Linked DNA regions of Homo sapiens: regions 1, 2, 3 and 5 are each linked to region 4. The links are contacts of gene promoters, found by promoter capture Hi-C in human tissues and cell types (Jung and others, 2019). All regions are on one chromosome and are shown on one strand. The core of a region is centred on a gene start or on the middle of the fragment in contact, and the rest is flanking DNA. Distances in the headings are between cores, read along the strand shown.

Evidence for each region. Contacts are between HindIII fragments. The study calls those that stand out against the background at their distance.
Region 1: a fragment that was not itself captured here is called in contact with the fragment with the promoter of LRGUK in region 4 in 1 of the 25 tissues and cell types used here (dorsolateral prefrontal cortex).
Region 2: a fragment that was not itself captured here is called in contact with the fragment with the promoter of LRGUK in region 4 in 1 of the 25 tissues and cell types used here (dorsolateral prefrontal cortex).
Region 3: a contact is called between a fragment that was not itself captured here and the fragment with the promoter of LRGUK in region 4, in 1 of the 25 tissues and cell types used here (dorsolateral prefrontal cortex).
Region 5: a fragment that was not itself captured here is called in contact with the fragment with the promoter of LRGUK in region 4 in 1 of the 25 tissues and cell types used here (spleen).

Annotation. Positions count from the first base shown.
Region 1 is chr7:133,064,262-133,069,075 of GRCh38, reverse strand. The region is part of intron 2 of CHCHD3 (coiled-coil-helix-coiled-coil-helix domain containing 3); the gene reads left to right. Among named protein-coding and RNA genes, the nearest start is that of CHCHD3, 15 kb to the left of the region's middle. The HindIII fragment of the contact is 3,742 bases long and covers 1,594-4,814 here.
Region 2 is chr7:132,711,493-132,716,300 of GRCh38, reverse strand. All of the region lies in intron 3 of FLJ40288 (Putative uncharacterized protein FLJ40288), which reads right to left. Among named protein-coding and RNA genes, the nearest start is that of FLJ40288, 65 kb to the right of the region's middle. The HindIII fragment of the contact is 3,804 bases long and covers 1-3,462 here.
Region 3 is chr7:132,857,534-132,861,962 of GRCh38, reverse strand. The region is part of intron 5 of CHCHD3 (coiled-coil-helix-coiled-coil-helix domain containing 3); the gene reads left to right. Among named protein-coding and RNA genes, the nearest start is that of MIR3654, 180 kb to the left of the region's middle. The HindIII fragment of the contact is 4,510 bases long and covers 1-3,722 here.
Region 4 is chr7:134,126,021-134,128,589 of GRCh38, reverse strand. It overlaps LRGUK (leucine rich repeats and guanylate kinase domain containing), which reads right to left and starts at 1,250. Exons shown (of 20, transcript NM_144648.3): 1 at 926-1,250. The coding sequence starts at 1,222. RefSeq lists enhancers at 968-1,237, 1,348-1,397. The HindIII fragment of the contact is 8,230 bases long and covers 1-2,569 here.
Region 5 is chr7:133,029,978-133,034,546 of GRCh38, reverse strand. All of the region lies in intron 2 of CHCHD3 (coiled-coil-helix-coiled-coil-helix domain containing 3), which reads left to right. It also overlaps the pseudogene LOC729998. Among named protein-coding and RNA genes, the nearest start is that of MIR3654, 2.7 kb to the left of the region's middle. The HindIII fragment of the contact is 3,921 bases long and covers 836-4,569 here.

The sequences.
Region 1 (4,814 bases), core at 2,215-4,714, 1.1 Mb after region 4:
GCAACCCTCAGTCCAGGGTTCTTTGTTGATTTCTACTAAGTAATCTTGTCCCAATATACGGTTTTGAAATCGTTATCTAGATGCCTGTGACTCCCAAAATTATATCTCTAGCCCTGACCTTTCCCTGAAATTCCAGACATTATAATAGACAACTGCCTACTTAAAATCTCCCCTTACAGATTCCTCAACTTGACATATCCCAAATCAACCTTTATTTTCACCCCCAGACTTGCTTTTCTTCTCTGTCTTTCCCACTAAATGGCACAGGTAGTCAGGTCCCCAATTGGGGATTCATCCTTGTTTTCTTTTTTCCTTACACCTTACATCAGACTGTTAGCTAGTCTTGTCAACTCCATCTCTAAAACATGTCTAAATATGTTCCTTTTGCATCTGTCTCCTCTGCTATATCTCCAATCCAGATAGATAACTGTCGTCTTCTGTGGAAGTCTCTTAACTGGCTCCCTGCTTCACTCTTTCCCCCTGTGCTGTGCACACAGAAGTCCTCACAATCTTTTGAAGAAAAGCAAATCAGGTCAAGTCATGTCCCAGTGGTGGCTCTCCATGGTACACAGAATATAGTCTGAGCTGCTTCCCTGGGCTTCCATCATATATCATGACTGGTCCCTCTCTGCCTTCCAACATCATCACATTATTCATCATCTCCTATCACCTTTCCTCTACTTATTCACTGTGACTGCTATCTTCACTAGAAGAGAAGCTCCAGGGACCTTATTCCTCATTTGTTTGTTCACAGCTGAATTCTTAGCTCCTAGGATAGTGTAACCTGCTTCTTAGTAAGTGCTTATTATCGTTTGTTGAATTAATTTAAGGGCATTATCCATTTTAAAAGTAGCTACTTTTGTTCATTCTGGAGAGTTCTATACATTTAATTCAGGTGACATATATTGAATGTTTCTATTATGTAAATAAATAAGCCACGTTTTTATTTTTTTTTTTCTTTTGAGATGGAGTCTCGCTGTCTCCCAGGCTGGAGTGCAGTGGCGTGATCTTGGCTCACTGCAAGCTCCGCCTCCTGGGTTCATGCCATTCTCCTGCCTCAGTCTCCTGAGTAGCTGGGACTACAGGCTCCCACCACCACGCCCGGCTAATTTTTTATATTTTTAGTAGAGACGGGGTTTCACCGTGTTAGCCAGGATGGTCTAAATCTCCTGACCTCGTGATCCGCCCGCCTCGACCTCCCAAAGTGCTGGGATTACAGGCGTGAGCCACCGTGCCCGGCCAAGCCAGGTATTTTGAAAAGATGCAAAAATAGGAAAAAGTTTTTTTTGACAGATAAACTACATATATAACAAGACTGTAAGGGAGGTAGAAACATAGTATAAAAGAAACCTAGGAGATACTGAAAATAAGTTTATCAAATATTTTGGCTTAAGAAGATGCCTTGTCGTGCAGAAACAAATGGCTGTCCAGTTTATTAAAATGCCCAACAACTGCACTTCCAGTCACTCGGGTCTTGCATATAAATACCACTGCATACAGTGAGCACATCTAGCTGATGATAAATATACCTTTGCTTCCTCCTCTTCCTCAAAATGGTGAATCTGTTCTTATCTACATGTATGAACTTAAAATACGGAAAATGTTAAGGGAGCAAATGGTTTGTAACTTTGTAAGTACTTATGACGTGTATCTTTTTGCTTATGAATATTCTGTGCTATAACCATTGTTTCTGTAGTTTAATTAAAACATTTTCTTGGTGTTAAAAAAAGAATGATGATATATGGATACATTTAAAATTGGAATTTGTTCTAAAGTATGATTTGTTGTAGGTAGATTTTTTTTCCTACCTCCTGTGTTACGGAGTTAGCGTGATGATCATGATGATTCAATATACTGAAGTAATGATAGATGACACTTAAAATTTATTACATTGTAGGTACTCTGCTAAATCCTGTGTACGTCTTATCTCATTTCATCCTTATAACCCTATGAAGAAGGACCTGTGATAACCCATTTTATGTAGAAAGAAACTGAGACTTGAAGTGATTAATTATTTTGCCCAAAGTCACACAGCTGGTGAGCAATGGAGATGAGAGTTACATTCAAGTTTGTCTGACTCCAGAGCAAATGCTGTTAACCACTTTGTCTTATTTTAATTTGAATGACATCTTGCTTTAGAAAGGACGTGATAGAAACTAGTTGGAATGAAGGAGCTGCTTTTTAGTGATGTTCTGCTTGAACTAAGGAAAGAACCCGTTGTCTATAAGTAATTGTTGGTTGTTCTAGCTTTTTCCCATATTGGCCTGAGTGGAAGGAGAGAAAATGTTTTCTCTCTTGGGTTGTTTTGATATTTCGAGAGAGTGGGGATGGGTCGGGAGGTTTTCTATGAGTGCCTGTGGTGTGTCTGGCCCGAAGAGCATGCCACTGATGTGAAGAGTTCTGGCTTTGCTGAGGGACCCATCCCTTCTCACTCCCCATTTGAAATGACTGATGAACTCTTTGGTCCATGACCAGCTGTGACCAGCCTGGGCACTGAAAGCTCTTAGAATGCCATCTTGTGGGCCAGGCTTGGTGGCTCATGCCTGTAATCCCATCACTTTGAGAGGCTGAGGTGGGAGGATCACCTGAGGTCAGGAGTTTGAGACCAGCCTGCCTAACATGGTGAATCCCTATCTCTACTAAAAATACAAAAAATAGCTGGGCGTGGTGGCACATGCCTGTAATCCCAGCTACTCAGGATACTGAGGCATGAGAATCGATTGAACCTGGGAGGCGGAAGTTGCAGTAAGCCGAGATTGTGCCACTGCACTTCAGCCTGGGCAACAGAGTGAGACTCCATCTCAAAAAAAAAAAAAAAAGTATGCCATCTTGTGTTTTAGTGGTCAGGCTAGAACTACACTTTCCAAATGGTAGCCACTAGTCACATGTGGCTCTTAAAAGTTAAGTGAAAATTAAGTCGATCAAATGAAAACTTTAGCTCTGAAGTTGCACTCTTCACATTTTATGCTCAGTAACCGCATGTGGCTTTTGACTACCATATTGGAAAGTGTAGATATAGGGCATTTCTATTATTGCAGACAGTTCTGTTGCATAGCTCTGATCTGGAACACACCAGTGCTTTTTATTTTCTATCTGCACCATGATGTGAAAAAGACTCAACAAGGCTCATAGGACAGGTTCTTTGAGTACATGATTTCTCTCACCCTTTCCAACCTAACCCAAGAAAAGAACTAAAATTTGGCATGCTATTTTGAAATGATCTTGCTTTAGGTTAAGAATGCAATTCAACTATGTGTAAATTAACAAAGATTTATTCTTCTTAGAATTAAAAAAATAGGCTTATAAAAGCATGAAGCTTGAACATTTATGTTTTGTTCTGAGTTTGTCTCATTTAGGAGTTTTAGTTAGTACTCAATAATAGATTTCTTAGGATTTAAAATTTAGATGTGTTATGAAATAATTTTTCAAGCCTACAAAAATGTATTGATAAAAATGTCACTCGCCTTTTTTACATTTTTCAGTGTGAAGTAAATTATATATTAAATGTGAGTTAAATTTTAAGTATTTATTAAAAAGCCTTCTTTCTCACAGGACTCTTAGTCATACCAGCCCTAGGCTATTCATATGTGTGAATATAGGGCAGTGTATTTGATGAACTGAGAGCCCTAGGATTTCTGTATATAGGAACTCAATTTTGTCATAAAAATAGTTTTGAGAATACATTTTATACTATAAGAAAGTGGGTTCCTCTGAAGACTTTACTGAAACTTTTTTTTCATAAAAAATATAATTTTTTTGCTAAACCTTGAACCAGATCAGTGGCTCGTTGCAGTAAGTATTCGCATGTAAAGCTGTTTGGGCAAAATAATATACTGTGTGACACACAGCAGATTGTAATGCCACTTTAATAAATGAATGTGCTCTCAATAACTTAACTGTGTCCTTGCTGCCTCAATTTTTTTGCTGCGTTATCTCAACTATATTGGTTTGCTTTTATACCAGATAATTTTTTTCTTAGGCTGACATAAGGAGATGTCATTGCATATAGTTATAAACTTACCTTTTCATTAACATCTTGCATCTTTTGATTTTAAAAAATCAATTTTGGGTGCTGATTGTTTCCTTTCAACCTGATCTTTTAGTTTTTCTGGCTTATAATGAGGTCAGACCTCTCATGGTTGACCCTACCTACCGCTGAAGAATCTGTCCCCAAATCAATATGAAGAAACAGACAGGAAATGATATTAGGAGATGTTTTGTTGTTTTCGTAAGCTACTGGCAACCAGATAAAAATGATGAATCTGGAAAAAAACAAGACAAATGACCTAACTTTTATTATCATCCTCACTGTAGAAGTTTCTCTGTAAATTTCTCGTCATTGTGAAAAATAAGAAAGATTTGCCAGTTTGTGTTAAGTATATCACTGAGATCACTAAGTATTTGGCAGCCTTAACAAATTGCAGGAAACCAATTTGAGCAGGAAATAACACAGCCTAAACTAAACAGCCAATTTTGGGAAACAGATTCATGTATAAGTTCTGTGTATTTTTCTCCCAGAATCTGGCCCTCCTAGTTATTTTTAAACAGCTCTTTAAGGCTCATTTAGACATAACACTGTAGGGAGAGTTCAGAGAAAATAAGCTTATTCCTTTGACTCGAGTTACAAGAACTGAACATCTAGGTTTCCAACTTTTAATATGTGAAACTTTGTGGATGCCAGTGTCTCAACTGTGTACTTTTTTTGTGGGCTGTAATGGTTGATTTGCCTGACTGTTCCTAATAGTAAGAAACCTAATTGCTATTGAATTAAAGGCATTAAATCTAATTCTCTAAGTCAGCATATTCTGCTCTGA
Region 2 (4,808 bases), core at 311-2,810, 1.4 Mb after region 4:
AGCTCAGAAAATAAAATGATAACAGCAAATATTGGCTAATGCTGTGTCTGAGTCCCAGACTCTCTCTGGTGGCCCTTTTGCTCCACACGCAGCCCACAGAGGCCTGGAAGTATCAGGGGAGGACCAGGGCCTTCAGGTCGCCCAGGAAACAGGAGGATAAAGCTGTGAGAGTGCAGGGATCTAGGGTACAGCTCAGTATGATTCAGCCTTCCCAGAAGCCGACCACAGCAAGACATTTGCCTGTGTTCTTGCAGTAAAAGTTTTGATGTCTCTCTTATAGTTTAATGCTTGCCATTCCATGGATGGCATAGTTGCTTTCATTAAAATTTGATAGCATTAAGAGAAGAAGCCAGGCGTGGTCACGTGCACTGATAGTCCCAGCTACTTTGGAGGTTGAGGCGGGAGGATCCCTTGAGCCAAGGAGGTGGAGGTTGCACTGAGTTGTGATTGCTCCTCTGCACTCCAGCCTGGGTGAGAGACCCTGTTTCTTAAAAAAAAAAAAAAAAAAAAAAAAAAAGTAATAATCACAAAAAGAATTAAAAATGGATTGGATTTAGGAATTGTCTGTGGGAAGTGAAGTGGGCAAGAGTGCAGAGACCGCTGCTGTGCATGGAAGCTGGAGGAGCGACTAATCTGGATAGCCCTGGGGTCATTTCCTGCCTTTGGAGCACCTGGTCCAGCCAGGCCCAGCCTAAGCCCACCTCTTTGAGAATGATGAGTGCTCAGGGGAGCAGATACACTCTGCTGCTTCTCTGGCTTGTAAATGTTCCATTAGTAACCCCTATTGTATATTTACACAACCTGGCAATAGCTGCTTATGCCTCCACACTCCCTTTGCACAACACAGCACTTGTGTATGATTTGCTTTGTTTCTGTATGCATATCCTTTTGAGAAAAAATTAAAACTGTAAGAGCCCATTTATTGAATTTCTACTGTGTGGCAAGCATAGTACTAGGTACTGGTGATTGGAGGGTAAACAATAATAGAAGCAAAAATCCTTCTTGAATGACAGGAGATCTAAGGGCTGTGTTTCATAGAGCTTCACTAACACTCACAGAGGGATGTCTGTGAGTTCAACTCAAACATCTGCCTGTTCTCCTCACCCAGTACCCTCTGCCCTCCTGGGGAAGGAGCTCTCTAGTAAGGGTCCCAGGGCAAGGGGCTTCTGAGATAACCAAACTTTCCATTTGTGTACATCTTTGACCAGCCGTGAAATTTCAGGTATCTGGTATATGCCGTGGCAGGAGAAAGGGCTGGGGGTGGGGTCGTAGCCTTGAGAATATCCTGAAAATGACTGGATGGTAAAGCTGATGATTGATATGCCCTTGAGTTTAGCTTTCACATTGAAGGAGGGATAGGCAAGTTGATGGAAAAAACAGGATTTAGGTTTGCTTTTTTATTTTTTTGAGACAGGGTCTCTCTCTGTTGCCCAGGCTGGAGTGCAGTGGCGCGATCATAGCTCATTGCAGCCTCAAACTCCTGTGCTCAAGCAATCCTCCTGCCTCAGCTTCCCAAGTAGCTAGGAATGCAGATAAGGTAGGAATAGATAGGAGTTCCTATCTACCACAACCAGCTAATTACGAAAAAAATTTTTTGGTAGATGTGGGGTCTTGCGAAGTTGTCCAGGCTGATCTTGAATTCCTGACCTTAAGCAATCCTCTTGCCTTGGGCTTCCGAAGTGTTGGGGTTACAGGTGTGAGCCACCATACCTGGCCTGCTTTTTAAAAATTGAGTGCCTTCCTGTTTTTCTAAGCTTGAATGCCCTTTATAAAAACGAAAATAAAACAAATTTTAAAAACCCCACCATTTATTTTCATTCTAGAGTAGTTGACTCAGCCGGGGTCAACAGGGCCAAAGTGATCAACTCAACCCCTGAGATCTGTGTTGCGAATGTTAGTCGTATATCTGGAGGACGAGGACTTCCTATCTTATTTATCCTCGAACCACTTGTGTTCAGAATAGTTCCAGGCACATATGGCTCAAACAAACTATTGTTTAATACAAAGTAATCTGTAGTATATCTTACTTTTGTATCAACCTAATACTAAAATCACAGATGTCAATAAATAATTCACTAGTAAATGTGTCTCTTAGTTATAAGATTTGGTCCTGAATACATAAATCATGTGGCCCATCCCCTTTCCTCCCCTCAAAAGCTGAGTGGGTGAATGGGTAGATGAATGGATGCCCTGTTCAGAAGTGAGTTTGCCATGAGAGTGCAGAAGTTTAGCTCAGCCCACTCTCCACTATAGGAGAAATGACTCAAGCACTGTCAGCAGACAGAGGAATAGCAATACCATATATAAATTTATCAAAACAAGACAGCATCTATTTTATTGTCAATACCACTTCAACGAAATTAATTTCCTTTGCGGTTTTTGTTTCTGTATTTTGGTAGTCGAATGTAGTGCCCAGCACACGCTAAATAATGGTTTCCTTCATTTTCTCATTTTTGTCTTTTTGTTTTTTTCAGAAAGCCCCTGATTGATTAAATGTCTCCCTGCATATTGCCATTAATCCTGTGCTCTTCTCCCCCAACCCCCTCTCCAGCACCCAGGCATTCTAATTTCATTGTGCAGGGAGCTGGCTTGAACCAAAACAAAGCGGCACACGAACACAGTACCAAGCAATATGGCACAGAAGTGCCAGCTCCAAAGGATTTGCCAGCTCAGGAGAGAAGAGGGGATGGAGGCGGGGAGGCCATGGGTCAGAATGTGATGATAGGATTAGAAAGGACTTGGAAAGAGATAGAGAGCCGAGCTGCTCTGTGCTCCGGACTTGGATGAAGCTGTCATGACAAAGTGATATGGTTTCCTACCCACCTTCTCCTGCTCTGATCCCAGCCACAAAGTTGTAGAGAGGCATGGACAGAGTGTTTTATTACTGTTGAAAATGAAGACCTTTTTTTTTTTTTTTTTTAACCTTATGGGCTGCAGGAAAGCTCTACCCTTTTAGTCCCCTGTTTTCCCTATCTGTAAAATGGGTCTCCTAATGCTTGCTAAGGAAGGCAAAGAAGTGTCTTCGCAAGCACTGGCCTAACGAAACTGACCTTGTCATCTGCTGCACAAAGAAATGAAAAGCCATGGCCAGGCCAGCTCCCTGCTTGACTGGGATCTAAACCTCTTGGGGGGACGGAGCTGCCTCCTGCTCAAAGGAGAGCCCTTCAGAGGGATGTTTTACAGACACTGCTGGAAACATAGAGTATACAGTAAAACACAAAGACAAGTGCATTGAGCTAGAGATCCCATTCATTGTGCTTGACAGACATAAATTACTGACCAGACACAGGCATTTCCCCTCATGGTCATCACCCAGTGAAGGGGAGAGATTTTATTTTCTAAATGATATATTGATCCAATAAAATTATTATTACATCATCTCTACTGGCCATCACGACTCACAGTGGGAGAGCATTACAGGGAAAGTGAATGCTCCCTCTGGAATGGGGTATAGAGATGTATGTGGGTGTGTGCGAGTGTGCATGTTTGTGTAAAGATTTCTGACAGACAGGAGATCGAGACCATCCTGACTAACACGGTGAAACCCCATCTCTACCAAAAATACAAAAAAATTAGCCAGGCGTGGTGGCGGGCACCTGTGGTCCCAGCTACTCGGGAGGCTGAGGCAGGAGAATGGCATGAACCTGGGAGGCGGAGCTTGCAGTGAGCCAAGATCGGGCCACTGCACTCCAGCCTGGGCAACAGAGCGAGACTGTGTCTCAAAAAAAAAAAAAAAAAAGATTTCTGATAGAGAAAGATGGGAAGTTGCATTAATATTAGTTGACTGAGCTCCAGCACTCACATGCAAAACCAAGCATCTTTCCTGGGACCTTCCCCAGTGGGTCACTATTGAAATAAGATGCTATTAGGGAACAACTTGGAAAGGATATAGTAGACCAAGGCCCCAGGGCTTAAGGAGTGAGACTGAAGGGCTCTTGTTAGACTCAATATGTCTTCCTTGAAGTAGGAGGAGAACAAGGAAGAATATACAATTTTATTTTTTTGAGACAAGGTCTCACTCTGTCACCCAGGCTGAAGTATAGTGGTGCAATCATGGCTCACTGCAGCCTCAACCTCCCCAGGCTCAGGTGATCCTCCCACCTCAGCCTCCCAAGTAGCTGGGATTACAGGCACGTGCCACCATGCCTGGCTAATTTTTTTTTTATTTTTTTATTTTTTTTTAGCTAGAGACAGGGTTTTTCCATGTTGCCCAGGCTGTTTTGAACTCCTGGGATCAAGTGATCCTCTCACCTCAGCCTCCCAGAGTGCTAGGATTATAGGGAGGACCGCCATGCCTGGCCAGAATCTATAATGTTGACTTTAAGATATCTGATATTAGGTATATGCCATGGCAGTGGGGAAGGGCTAGAAATAGAGTAGTTTAGTGCAGGGTTCTCAGACCCCCAAAGCCTCAAACCATCTTGTATAGCAATCTAGGAGGAGAGCCTCCTACAATCATGTAAAGATCACAGGAGACTGTCTTCTCCGGAGATAAGTTATTGATGGGCTAATGACCTTGAGTCAAATCGAGTATGTGGAACTATGCCCCTTTATATTGACAAAGGGCTGAGATGTGGTAGCAAGGTGGAGTGGTGAGTGAGACCCCAAAGCTGGATAGTTCTAACCACCTCACCCCTGCAGGTAGCTGTGTCTGAGTCCTCAGTTACTCCCTGCGTCTTAGAAAGCTGAAGATATTAATAGAGGATTTCTCTGACTTCAGTGAGTCGGAGGGAACAGCTGCACCTGGGGAGTTTTTCCACTTGACGAGATGGACTGCTTCCCAAAGCATCGTCGCAATCTGCCATGAA
Region 3 (4,429 bases), core at 218-2,717, 1.3 Mb after region 4:
TATAAGTTCTTTAATACAATTTATACTAATCATCCAGTTTAACATTTTCTTACCTTTCTATTCCTTGACACCTGAGGCTTAAAATTTGGATAGACCAGGCATCAGCAAACTGATAATAATTTATACATTTTTAAATGGTTGGGGAAAAAATTCAAAAGAATAATTTTATGACACAACAATTCTATGAAATTCAAATTTTAGTGTCCATAAATAGTTTTATTGGAAGACAGCCATGCTCATTTATGTGTGTATTGTCCGTGGCTACTTTCGTACTACAACAGAGTTGAGTAGCTTTGACAGAGACCATGTGACCCATAAAGCTTCAAATATTTACTCTCTGGCCTTTTATGGCAAAAGTTTGTCACCTCCTGCTTTAGACATCTTTTTTCCCCTAGAAGTTCCTGAGGATAATTGATTGTGGACATATCCAACTATGTTCCAAGACATGGGCTGGGGACACAGGAAAAAGCAACAAACAAGGAGAACCTGTTTCCCACCATCACAGAGCTCAGAGTCTAGCGAGTGGAATACAATACAGAGAACAAAATGAGCCAAAATAGATCATGAAAAGTGTGATGAAAGAAACATGAATACAGTGAGAGAAAATAGGAGAGGGGTTTTCAGATGAGGTGATCTAACGACGAAACACTTAGGAAGCACACACTCACACTCCAAAGAATAGCAGAGGTAGCGGTCCTGAGTGCTCCAGCCACCAGTCTTCCTCCAGTTTTCCTCGGGAAATGGCACCATTACCTACTCAGTGGCTGAAGCTCACAATCTACGACACATTTTTGGTTCTCACTTTTCCTCACATTCCCTCCTTCCTCTCCAATTCATCAGGAAGTTCTGTTGATTCTACTTCCAAAACATAGTTCAATTTTGTCTGTTTTTTAAGTCTATTACCACCATAAACCAAGCCTCCATCTCTCTTAGCTGAACTCTTGTAATCACTCCCTTGTCTGTCTAGTCCATCTTCTGTTCCCTCCACCACTGTCTATTTTCCAGCCAAGAGCTATGGTTTTTTAAGAACTTGAGTCTGGGCCGGGAGTGGTGGCTCACGCCTGTATTCCCAGCACTTTGGGAGGCTGAGGCGGGTGGATCACTTGAGGTCAGGAGTTTGAGACCAGCCCAGGCAACATGGTGAAACCTTGTCTCTACTAAAAATACAAAAATTAGCCAGGTGTGGCATGCACCTGTAATCGCATCTATTTGGGAGGCCGAGGCAGGAGAATCTCTTGAACCCAGGAGGTGGAGGTTGCAATGAGCTGAGATTGCGTCACTGCCCACCAGCCTGGGCAACAGAGTGAGACTCTGTCTCAAAAAAAAAAAGCTTGAGTCAGATTATATCGTTTCTTTGCTGAAAACCGTCCATGCTTTTCCATAGCCGTTAGAATAAAATCCAAACCCATTACATGCCTGTTAAAGAAGAAAGGAAGCCAATAAGGCCTGAACATGGGGATTGTCTGATGTGCTGGACTGGATATAAGATGGTGTAAGAAAGAAAGATGATTCCTGTATCTCTGGCTTCAGCAAATGTGTGAAAGATAGAACCAGTTACTGAGTCTAGGAAGACCAAGAGGAATAAGTTTGTTCATTGAAACAAACAAAAAACAATGTGGGATTGTGTTCTCTCTCTCTCTCTCTCTTTCTCTCTCTCTCTATCTATCTATCTATAAAAAAAAATCTGTTTATTTTTGAGATCGAGTCTCACTCCATCACCCAGACTGGAGTGCAGTGGCACAATTTTGGCTCGCCACAACCTCCTGGGCTCAATTGATCTTCTTGCCTCAGCCTCCAGAGTAGCTGGGACTACAGATGCGCGCCATCACCCCTGGCTAATTTTTTGTATTTTTTTGTGTAGACATGGTTTTGCCATGTTACCTAGGCTGGTCTTGAACTCCCGGGCCCAAGCAATCTGCCTCACTGACTTCCCAAAATGCTGGGATTACAGGCGTAAGCCACCGAGCCGAGCCCTGTGTTTTAATCAATTTAAATTTTAGGTGTTTCTGATACAATTGATTTCAATAAAACATTTGGACCATTGAGTATGGAATCAGAGGCAAGGTCTGGGCTGGGTATATAGATCTGGGAGTTGTCAGCCCATGAGGGGAGTTTAAAGCCATGAGACTGGAAGAGCTTCGCTAAGAGACCAAGTGTAGGTCAAGGAGAAAAGTGGACCTTGAACAGCCCTGAGGTCTGAACTGGGGGTTACTTCTTAAGGGAAGACAAGAGTCCAGTGGAATTCCTCCACAGGGACTGAAGGGGAAGGAGGCAGGAGTTGTGCTAATTTATCCAGGGAAGCAGTTCTCCATCATCTTTAGAGGAAGTGGGAATCTGGGCTGGACAAAAGCCAAAGATTATTAAGAGCGTCTTCTACAAACAAAGTCTCTGGCTAATCTAAATTTAATTCTGGATCTTGTAATATATAGTTTAGGAGTTCATTTAAATTTAATTTACATAGGGTGAAAATAAGCTTTGACCTTTATAATTGCTGTATCAGTAAAGTCACAGGTTCATTGACTTGTTAGCCAATTTTTCCTGTGTTACTTTTCTTCTGGTTTTGTTGTTGTTGTTTCAGTTTGTAATATACAGATTTAAGAACAAGTGTCTGGATATCCACAAAGGCATCACAGACAGCTGACATGTGGATCTGCTTTTGTTTGTAATTAAAATGGGCTTAAATCTCATCCCCCTTACACTAAGTAAAATATATAATTAGAATTTTTAATATATAATAACTTTTAAATATCTCATTGTAGGTTCAGGGAAGGTAATAGTATTCAATTAGAGGCTAAATGCCACCTCCTACACAAAGCCTTCTAATTGTTTTGTATAGATGGTGATCTCTTTTCATAAGGCATTCAATACAGTGATCTGGAAATCAGTACGTTAATACAGTGATTTGCAAATCACTGTACTGTAGCTGTTAAGCATATTACCTCTGGAGCTCGGCTGCTTGGATTTGACCCTGGCAGTGCCACAGACAAGCTCAAATGACCTGGTAAATTATTTCATTTTGGAGGGCCTTAGTTTTCTCATCTGGAAAATGGGGATAATTGTACCAACCTGATGGAGTTATTGTCAGGTTTGCATGAGACAATCTATGTAAAGCGCATGTCCTGGGATCAGATTTAAGAACTATTTAGAAAAAATGTCTGTATTAACACTTAGCTAAAATACGCCACTGATTTGTAAAGATATTATTATTAGCATTTATACCTTTCTTGTCCTCAGAGTGATTTGATGGGATATGGGCAATATTCTAAACAATATTAAATCAGGAAGGCTTTAGTTTTCTAACATACAAACTCTCAGAGAGCTGAAGACTAAAAATTTATTTTTCTTTGTATAACCAGTACCTGGCACAATACTAGGCTATTCATGCTTTGTTGAACTGAGGGCTAAAACTCAGAAAGTTGATATCAGAGAATTAGGATGATTGGGGCAAGGGCTGGCACACGCCATCTGCTTGAGGGGTTGTGTTAGTGGCTGTGCAGAACTTTCCATTGCATCATTACTTTTGTTTTTTGTCAAGAACGAAAGGTATATAATAAAAGTTGGCTCAAGAGAAGTGAAACTAAAGAGAAAAGAGGAAAAAAGTGAAGATGCCAGGTGCTCATGCCTGTAATCCCAGCACTTTGGGAGGCTGAAGCAGGTGGATCACCTGAGGTCTGGAGTTCAAGACCAGCCTGGTCAATGTGGTGAAACCCCATCTCTACTGAAAATTCAAAAATCAGCCAGGCGTGGTGGAGTGTGCCTGTAGTCCTAGCTACTCGGGAGGCTGAGGCAGGCGAATTGCTTGAACCTGTGAGGCTGAGGTTGCAGTGAGCTGAGATCGTACCACTGCACTCTAGCCTGGGCAACAGAGTGAGATTCAGTCTCAACAACAACAAAGTGAAGAAAGAATTGAAAAAGAATCGAAGAAAGCCCTACTCTGAATGAGCTCAAATGCGTCTCAGCATAGAGGAATACAGACAAGTGTGCCAGTTCTTCTTGTGGAGAAGCACTGTCCCAGAAGACGGGAGTTATCCTGTGACCTGCTAGGCCAAATAGGCTTTTGGCTGGACTAAAGTAGTTGAGCCTCTAAATGACTTTACTCTCCTTCAGCTCCGATTCTTTCAACACAGGGGTATCTAATTTCTAAAACCAGACCCAGTGGGATTGAGTGGCTTGCCCAAGGTCACAAGCAGTCAGGCCCCTGTTAGGAAGTGCCCCCTCCCATCCAGAGATGTTCAGCTCTAAAATAGGCTGCCTAGGCCAGGCGCAGCGGCTCATGCCTGTAATCCCAGCACTTTGGGACGCCAAGGCAGGCTGATCACCTGAGGTCAGGAGTTTGAGACCAGCCTGGCCAACATGGTGAAACCCCATCTCTATTAAAAATACAAAAATTAGCTGGGGGTGGTGGCGGGTGTCTGTCATCCCAACTATT
Region 4 (2,569 bases), core at 1-2,500:
GACAAAGCCAGACTCCATCTCAAAAACATAAACAAAATAGAAAGGAAGCAAATTAAATTACGCTTTTGAAAGAAAGCAATTTATTAGAAGCCAAGAGAAAAGAAGTGATGTGATGAGAAGTGGAAAAGGACAAGAAGACAACAATGGACTAAGAAAGGAAAAGGACCATAATAAGCATAAGAAAGAAGAGGAATTGTGTGGTGGTCAGAAGAGATATTGTAGAAAGGAGGGAATGGCAGTCATGTGAAACGCGAAGCCGCCATCCCAGTCAATATGGGTGGGATGATGGGAACATTCCCCACATCCTAAAATATTCCCACAATGAGCTGGCTGTTCGAACATTATAAGGCTCTTTTCTGGTGTGTGTGCATGTTGCTTGTATAAGGCATATGCCCCCGACAGAAGTAATGTATTCAACTTTTAAGTCACTTAGTCTTTGAAGAAGCACTTTCAAAAGCGGATTTTTTTTTTTTTTTTTTTCCTGGAGGGAGGCTGACGGGACTAGAACTGAGGAAGAGTGTGGAAGTATGTCATAGCCATGGGCAACAGGTGCTGGCAATGTCAGAGATGAACTCTGCCTATTCACAATACTGTCAAAGTATAATTTTGAAAAAGCTAAAGCCATAATTCCCAGACAATTATCTAGACACTCTTACAAAGTGACGCTGTGTTAACTCGACTCATAAGAAATCAAATGTGTTAATGAAAAAAGAAAGGAACTATTTAGAGCTATTTCAGGCAGGGGGTGAGAAAACGGGGTAAAAGACAGGGGAAGAAAAGAGGGGGAAGAGGCGTTCCTGGAGGCGAGAGAGCCTGAGAAGGTGTGGGAAGCTTCGGGCTGGTGGGGGTGCATCGGGGAGCTGCCGCTGAAGTAACAGGGCTGGACGAGGGAGCCAGGGAGTACGGGGTGGGGGGGAAGACACACCTCCAAATTCAGCATTTCGGACTCTGAGGACTCCTCGGATCCCGCCTCGCCCTCGCCCTGGTCCTCATCTCCGTCCGAGTCCAGCTCCTGATAGCGGTGCATGAGCTGCTGGAGCAGGTAGGAGGAGGCTATGTTAGAGCTGCCTTTCGTCTTCTGCCCCATGGGAAAAGACCAGCAAGGCTGACGCTCTTTTTCTGCGCGAAACTGTAACGATCGGGCTCCAGTTCGGGATCTGCCCAAGCCTCTCAGGAGAGAGGCAGCTCTGGTCCTCAGGAGAGCCCTCTCGGAGGTCGCCATCTTGTTTAGCGGGGTTGCCTAGGAGACTGACCCCAGGCAAGGGGAACCGCGGAGGATTCTGGGGCCTGTAGTCTCCTCCGCGCGTACTCGCCTTCTGCAGGCGGGGCAGTGGGCGCTCCACTTGACTTTTCTTTTTCTCAGTCTCTTCTGTTATTTTTCTCTCTTTGGTCTGTTCTGTTCGCTTATCTTTCCTGTTTTCACCTCTTTTCGCTACACCCCCTTTCTTTGTCTCCAGCTGTTTCCTCCCTACCCTGAGACCCCTCTTAGAGCTTTGTCATCCCACGATAGGATCGCAGGTGCGCCACCGTTGCCGCTTCATTCCCAAAGGGCTCTTTCCGCAGAGTCGTACTTTAGAAGTGTCTAATGTCTCTAAAGCAGTCTGTAGGAAAGCTAGTACCACTGAAATTTATGCAAAGCGCGACGCTAGGAGATGAGGGTGCATATAAGTGAAATAGAAGGCATGGTTCCTGTCCTTATGATTTAATTGCAGATAATAAAGAGAAACTACCAGACGACGCCTGAGAGCTGATTTCCAATTAATTTACATTCCCCACCCCCACCCCCCAATGATAAGCCTTGTCCTTGGGGAGAAAAACTGGCAGTGGTCTTACAATCCAAACAGAGAGAGAAAAAACTGCTGTCAAATTGACACTGTATCTGAAAGCGTCTGAAAAGCTATTAGCATCCCATAAATAATTATATTAGTCAAGTGACCTGCATTGGCAATTATTTTAATCTTGTTGCACAGGCTCTCTTTGCAGTTAAAAAAAATACTCTTTCAAGATAACAAAGCACGATTTTATGCTAGTGTGATTTTATGTGACCCAAATCCCATAGCCTTAAGCTCCACAACGTCGACACTCTATAGAAAAGCAGAATGAAAATTATAGTAACTATTATTGCCATAGTGATGACAATAGAGATCCTTGCAGGGAAGTAGCCCTCATCCTTCTGGCCTTACAGGGCCTTTTCTGCACGCTTCAATGACAGCAGTTGCAAATACAAAATGATCCTGTCAATGGCTGTCAGGGGAGAAGGAGAAAAAATCCTTATGGACACCATCCATTGACGATTATCTTTCTCAGTGCTTGAGGGACCGTTAAAACTGACATAAAGCTTTCAGAATTACCTTCCTTCATTATCTTGCTAGTCATAAATGTAAAGGCCACAAGCAAAATATCTCTTTCTGCCAGGCTCATCTTGCTTTTTGCTTATTTCTTTTTCCAATAAGTAGAGATTCCTCCAAGGGAATTTTCCCCACCCTTACCCTCGTAGGGCCTGGCTTCGGCTAAGTGACATAGGGAAGAATCAGGCAGAAAGTGTAAAAATGCAAATCTCGATCGTTTT
Region 5 (4,569 bases), core at 1,547-4,046, 1.1 Mb after region 4:
AGGAAACTGAACATTGAAAAAAAAAAAAAAAAAAAAAAGACTGGATCCAATTGCTGAAAGGACTTGAAAAGAATTATAGATGCATTTTTTTAAAAGTATCATATATGTTTAGATTTTACTCATCCTTGTTGCTTTCTTACCATTTATTCTAGATAGTTTAATATTATATGCTTTAGTGAAAGCTAACTTATTTTTGCTGTTTATAGAGAAATTATTTCTTATTATACCCTCACTTCCTTAATTTCAAAAAGGAATCTCTGTGAATTATTATAAGTTAATTCAGGATGAGTAGCTTTAAATCCTTTTTCTTTTTCCTTCATTATAAACATGATATGGCCTTATTGAACTGTTTGTTCAGTATTCATTCTGATATTGTCATATATAAAACATAGTTTTAAATGGTCAAGCGCTATCCTGTGTAGATAATTTTGATGGGAAATGTGTCAGCTTGAAATAAATCGATGTTTGGGAAATTGTTCTCTTAAAGACGGTAATCTGAAAATGTGAATGCTAAATAATGAAAACATTTGTACAGTTTGGGGGTAGATGAGTTTTAATCTGTTTCTGGCATCTGTACATTCTTGTGATATCTCACAGAGACCTGGAGTGTTTAGGTTGCAATTTGTACCCACCTTTTCCATTTCTATTGAATTAATAATGGAGCCCTCATCCCTCTAGGACATCAGGAGAGAAAAAAAAATAGACAATGTGATGATTAGCAGAGAGTAATTTTGATTACCCTAAGGAAAATTAAGATGATCTTTATAAGTGGACCGGGCAAAATGTGGTTTTGGTGAGTATGGAGCTAGAGAAAGCTAGTCATGTTTGGGCACCTTAAGGCAGAGATCATGTTGGGGAAAGATATTTTGGTGTCATCCAAATGTTTATCTGTTTGAAAAATCCATATAAATATTAGTAGATTATTTGTGACTATCTATCTGTGGTCATACAAACCATAAAATAGCTAGATTTCCCACTTTTTTTCATTTATCAGGGTGAATATTTTAGCCCTGTCTAAAACAATGGTGCGCAGTGGTGGGGCAATACTGTACCACTTTAGAAAGTGTTTGAGTAGTACCCCACTTGAGGAGTACGGCACCACTTCAGGCACTTTAGGAATTTGAGGGAAGCTGTGGTGTTTAGTGGCACGGGGAGGGATCTTCATGGCTAGCAGTGCCTGGGGGTAGTTTCCCATCTCCAAGAATTGTCCTGTGCCCTCTAACTTCTGAATGTCCCATCAGAGATTCATGGAGCTGAAAACCTATTTACCTGGCTGAGAACTTAGTTGTTTTATATATAAACAGAAAGTATGTTTTGCATGGTTTTAAAGTATACTGAATTTTCCAAGAGTGAAACTACTGTGTAACAATAGCTTTTGCATTTGTGATGATTTAGCACACAAACTCAAGATTCAGACTGTTTTATTATGTCTGCTAGGGTAGTTATGTTTGAACGTTTACATAATGAGATGCCATTATTTTATTATAAATTAGCTTGTTTTATTTAAATATTACACTTAGGGCATTATATTGATTACTTTTCTTGGTCACACAGGACCATTTGCGTGAAATGGAAAAGAGCTTGGGTGGTTTCTGTACTTCATTTAGTTTGGAGAGTTAACACTGTATTATAGTTTTATCTCCAGTGAACAAAATATAATCATTTTTGAAACAAAAAAATTAAGCTATGTATCAGAAAGCAATATCCAAAGGTAATTATTATTTTTTAATTTAAATTATAGATCTTATTTTCCTGGAGGCTGTGTGAGATCTTGCAACTATTATTCAGAATATTAAGACATGAAATACTAGATATATCTGATTCTCAATACGGGTTTTAGGAATTGTCTACTTAAGATGTCTAAACTGTAGAATATGAATTACGAGCTTATCTCTTGCTATACGGCTATAGCCCAGTATTGATGTTTTCTTTCCTACATGGAATGGAACATGGAGCTAGTTTCTATGGGTGCTTATTGTGAAGCAAACAATAAAATGAACATTATTTGCGTAATATGCCATTCAGATGAGAAATTTACAAAGGTATATACATCCTGATGGAGTGATAATGCTACAAAATAAGCCATTAACTTGATGCTGTTGATGTTCAGGTTGCCAAACTCTTCCTAACACTGCCTTCTGGTACAGTATTTATGATTATGAATGTGCAGTGCAGAACTTTCATTCTACCATCTTCATTAACTTTAATGCGTAAGTAGCCACAGTTACCCCTGCCAGGTAGTAGACAGATGCCATTTGTTTTGAAGGCACTCTTAAGATACATTCTCCTTATAGGATGGTGAAGGTAACTGTCAGCTGAATATACCTATATTCTCTGTGTGCCTGGTTTAAATCAGGTTTATTTGTCTGCCAACTAAATGGTGCCACAAATGGATAATAAACATGTTTATTTCTAACTCTTGAGATTTATCCTAGTCATCTTTTGGCTCTTCTTCCAATCAAACCCTGTAGCTTTTAGAAGATAAGGAGCAGGACAAGATTTATCCTGTAACCTATGCTGTTAGTCATTTAGCTCTAATATACTTGGTGTTGTATTTCATTGATTGCATGGATGCTTTGATTATTATTTTCTTAAACAATAATTGCTCTTCATTTTAATGAATTTATTGAAATTATAAGATTAATGAGTATTTCTATTGAGCTGAAAATTTAATTTGGCTATATCTTATGGTATAACTTTTTGCTCAACTATCTCAATCCTGGGAGAATCAGAGTCTTTATCTGAAATCTGCTGCTTATATTATGCAGGTACATATATTTATTTTGTTCTCTTGGAAGATCTTCATGGTTTCTCTTTAGTGTGTTTAAACTAGCACATGAAAATAATAGACTTTACAAAATTGGCCATGACCTATATCAGCAAATGGTGAAACCAGAAAGAAAAATACATTAAAGGAAAAATCCCAAAGGAACTGATATTTCTCTAAGAAGCAAGGTATAACTTTTATTAAGCAACTTAAAGAGATTGTTTAAGAAATACTGTAATTGGGGAGGGAATTATAGTGTAAGGATTATGCAAAAAAAAAATGAAGTAAAAGGGAATTACAAGTGGGAAAAGTTACAAAGGAAATTAGTATGTTCCTTGAGGTTCAGGGAATCTATGTATATTTCAGATCATGGTTGCATTTTCAGTCTTCTGTTTTTCATGGTTGATGAGTTCATCAAGTCCTTCCATCTTTTGGAGTCATTTCTATTCACCATTCAAGGATCTATCTAAAATGTATAATTATGTCTCCCCGTACCATTCCCTCCCTTCATATCTTTAGTTTAACCAGTTTCGGTAAACACAGGAATTTGAGCATCACCTGTCACATAGAAGACAGGTGATGTGTATTGAACTTATGTTACACTTTCTTTGAGGAATAAGAATTTCCTCACATTTCCTAAGAATACTCAGGATCAAGTATAAGTTTAGGAATCTTGGACTTTCTTATTTGATCCTGAACTCAAATTTATAGCCCAGAAATTTTGGTGGCTAAGTGGGTCAAAAGATTCCTAGGCAAACCTTAAAGAAGACCCTTGGACTAGCCAAAGCATTTGTTTAGAATATTGTTTAGTAAAGACAAACAAAAATTTGTTAGGAATCCAGAGCTGCTTTCAATCATCCAAGTATTTATTATTTTCAGTAATGGTTTCAAGTAAATGGTTTAGAGCCACACTTGCTAGAACTAAGCAATTGCAATGCTTGGCTTTTTCTGACATGTTTTATGATCAGTGTTTATATCTATAACTAATTGACAAAATGCCAGTGTTTGTGTTCTTTAAGATACATTCACCATTGAGAAAGAAATTAAAATGGTTTCTGAGAAGAATTTTAAAAAGTACAGACTATACAAGTATGGAAAGAAAACATTCTTTTGTCTTAACACATTTCTAAAAGGAGAGTATGTGTGTATATAAAAGCCATGGAACCATACTTACTGAACTTGAAATAGTTTTGCAAATTTCCATGGCAAATGGGATTTATATTGCTTGAACATTTTTTTGTTTTTACTCCTTTTCTCATTTCACAAACTTTGCCAGTTCCCAAAGATTTGCTTGGAAACTCACTGTGCTAATAGGCAAAGTTGGCCTTTCTTGTGCTTCTCTTAAACTAGCCCTTCCTGAAACACTGACCTTTTAGTTTAATAACAGTTTTATTTGAGAAAATGTTCAGATCCTGGGAGCTGAAAAGAGTGTTTTCAGAAAGGCCATTTTAAATAGTGGTCTCCAAATGCTGTATCTTTTTCCCTCATGCACTTTGGGTCAGACCTATCAGAAGAAATACAGTATTGCTTTATGTATTCTATTGATTTAAAAACAAATACCATGAAGCTTAGATGTGCTCAGAACCCATTACCTCACTGGTTTATTTTCCTGGCTGTGCTTTGATTTGCTATTTTAGATTTCAAACTCTTTATGCTAGGTCATGTTTTTATTTTCTGTTATTTTAACTTCTCATTTGTAGCTAAGGTAATTACTTTTTCAGTTGTGACCTTGGACTTGACCCAAAAGTTGTGATTTTTTTTTTTTTTCCTTTTCTGGAAATAGGTAGGGCATTAGAAAGATA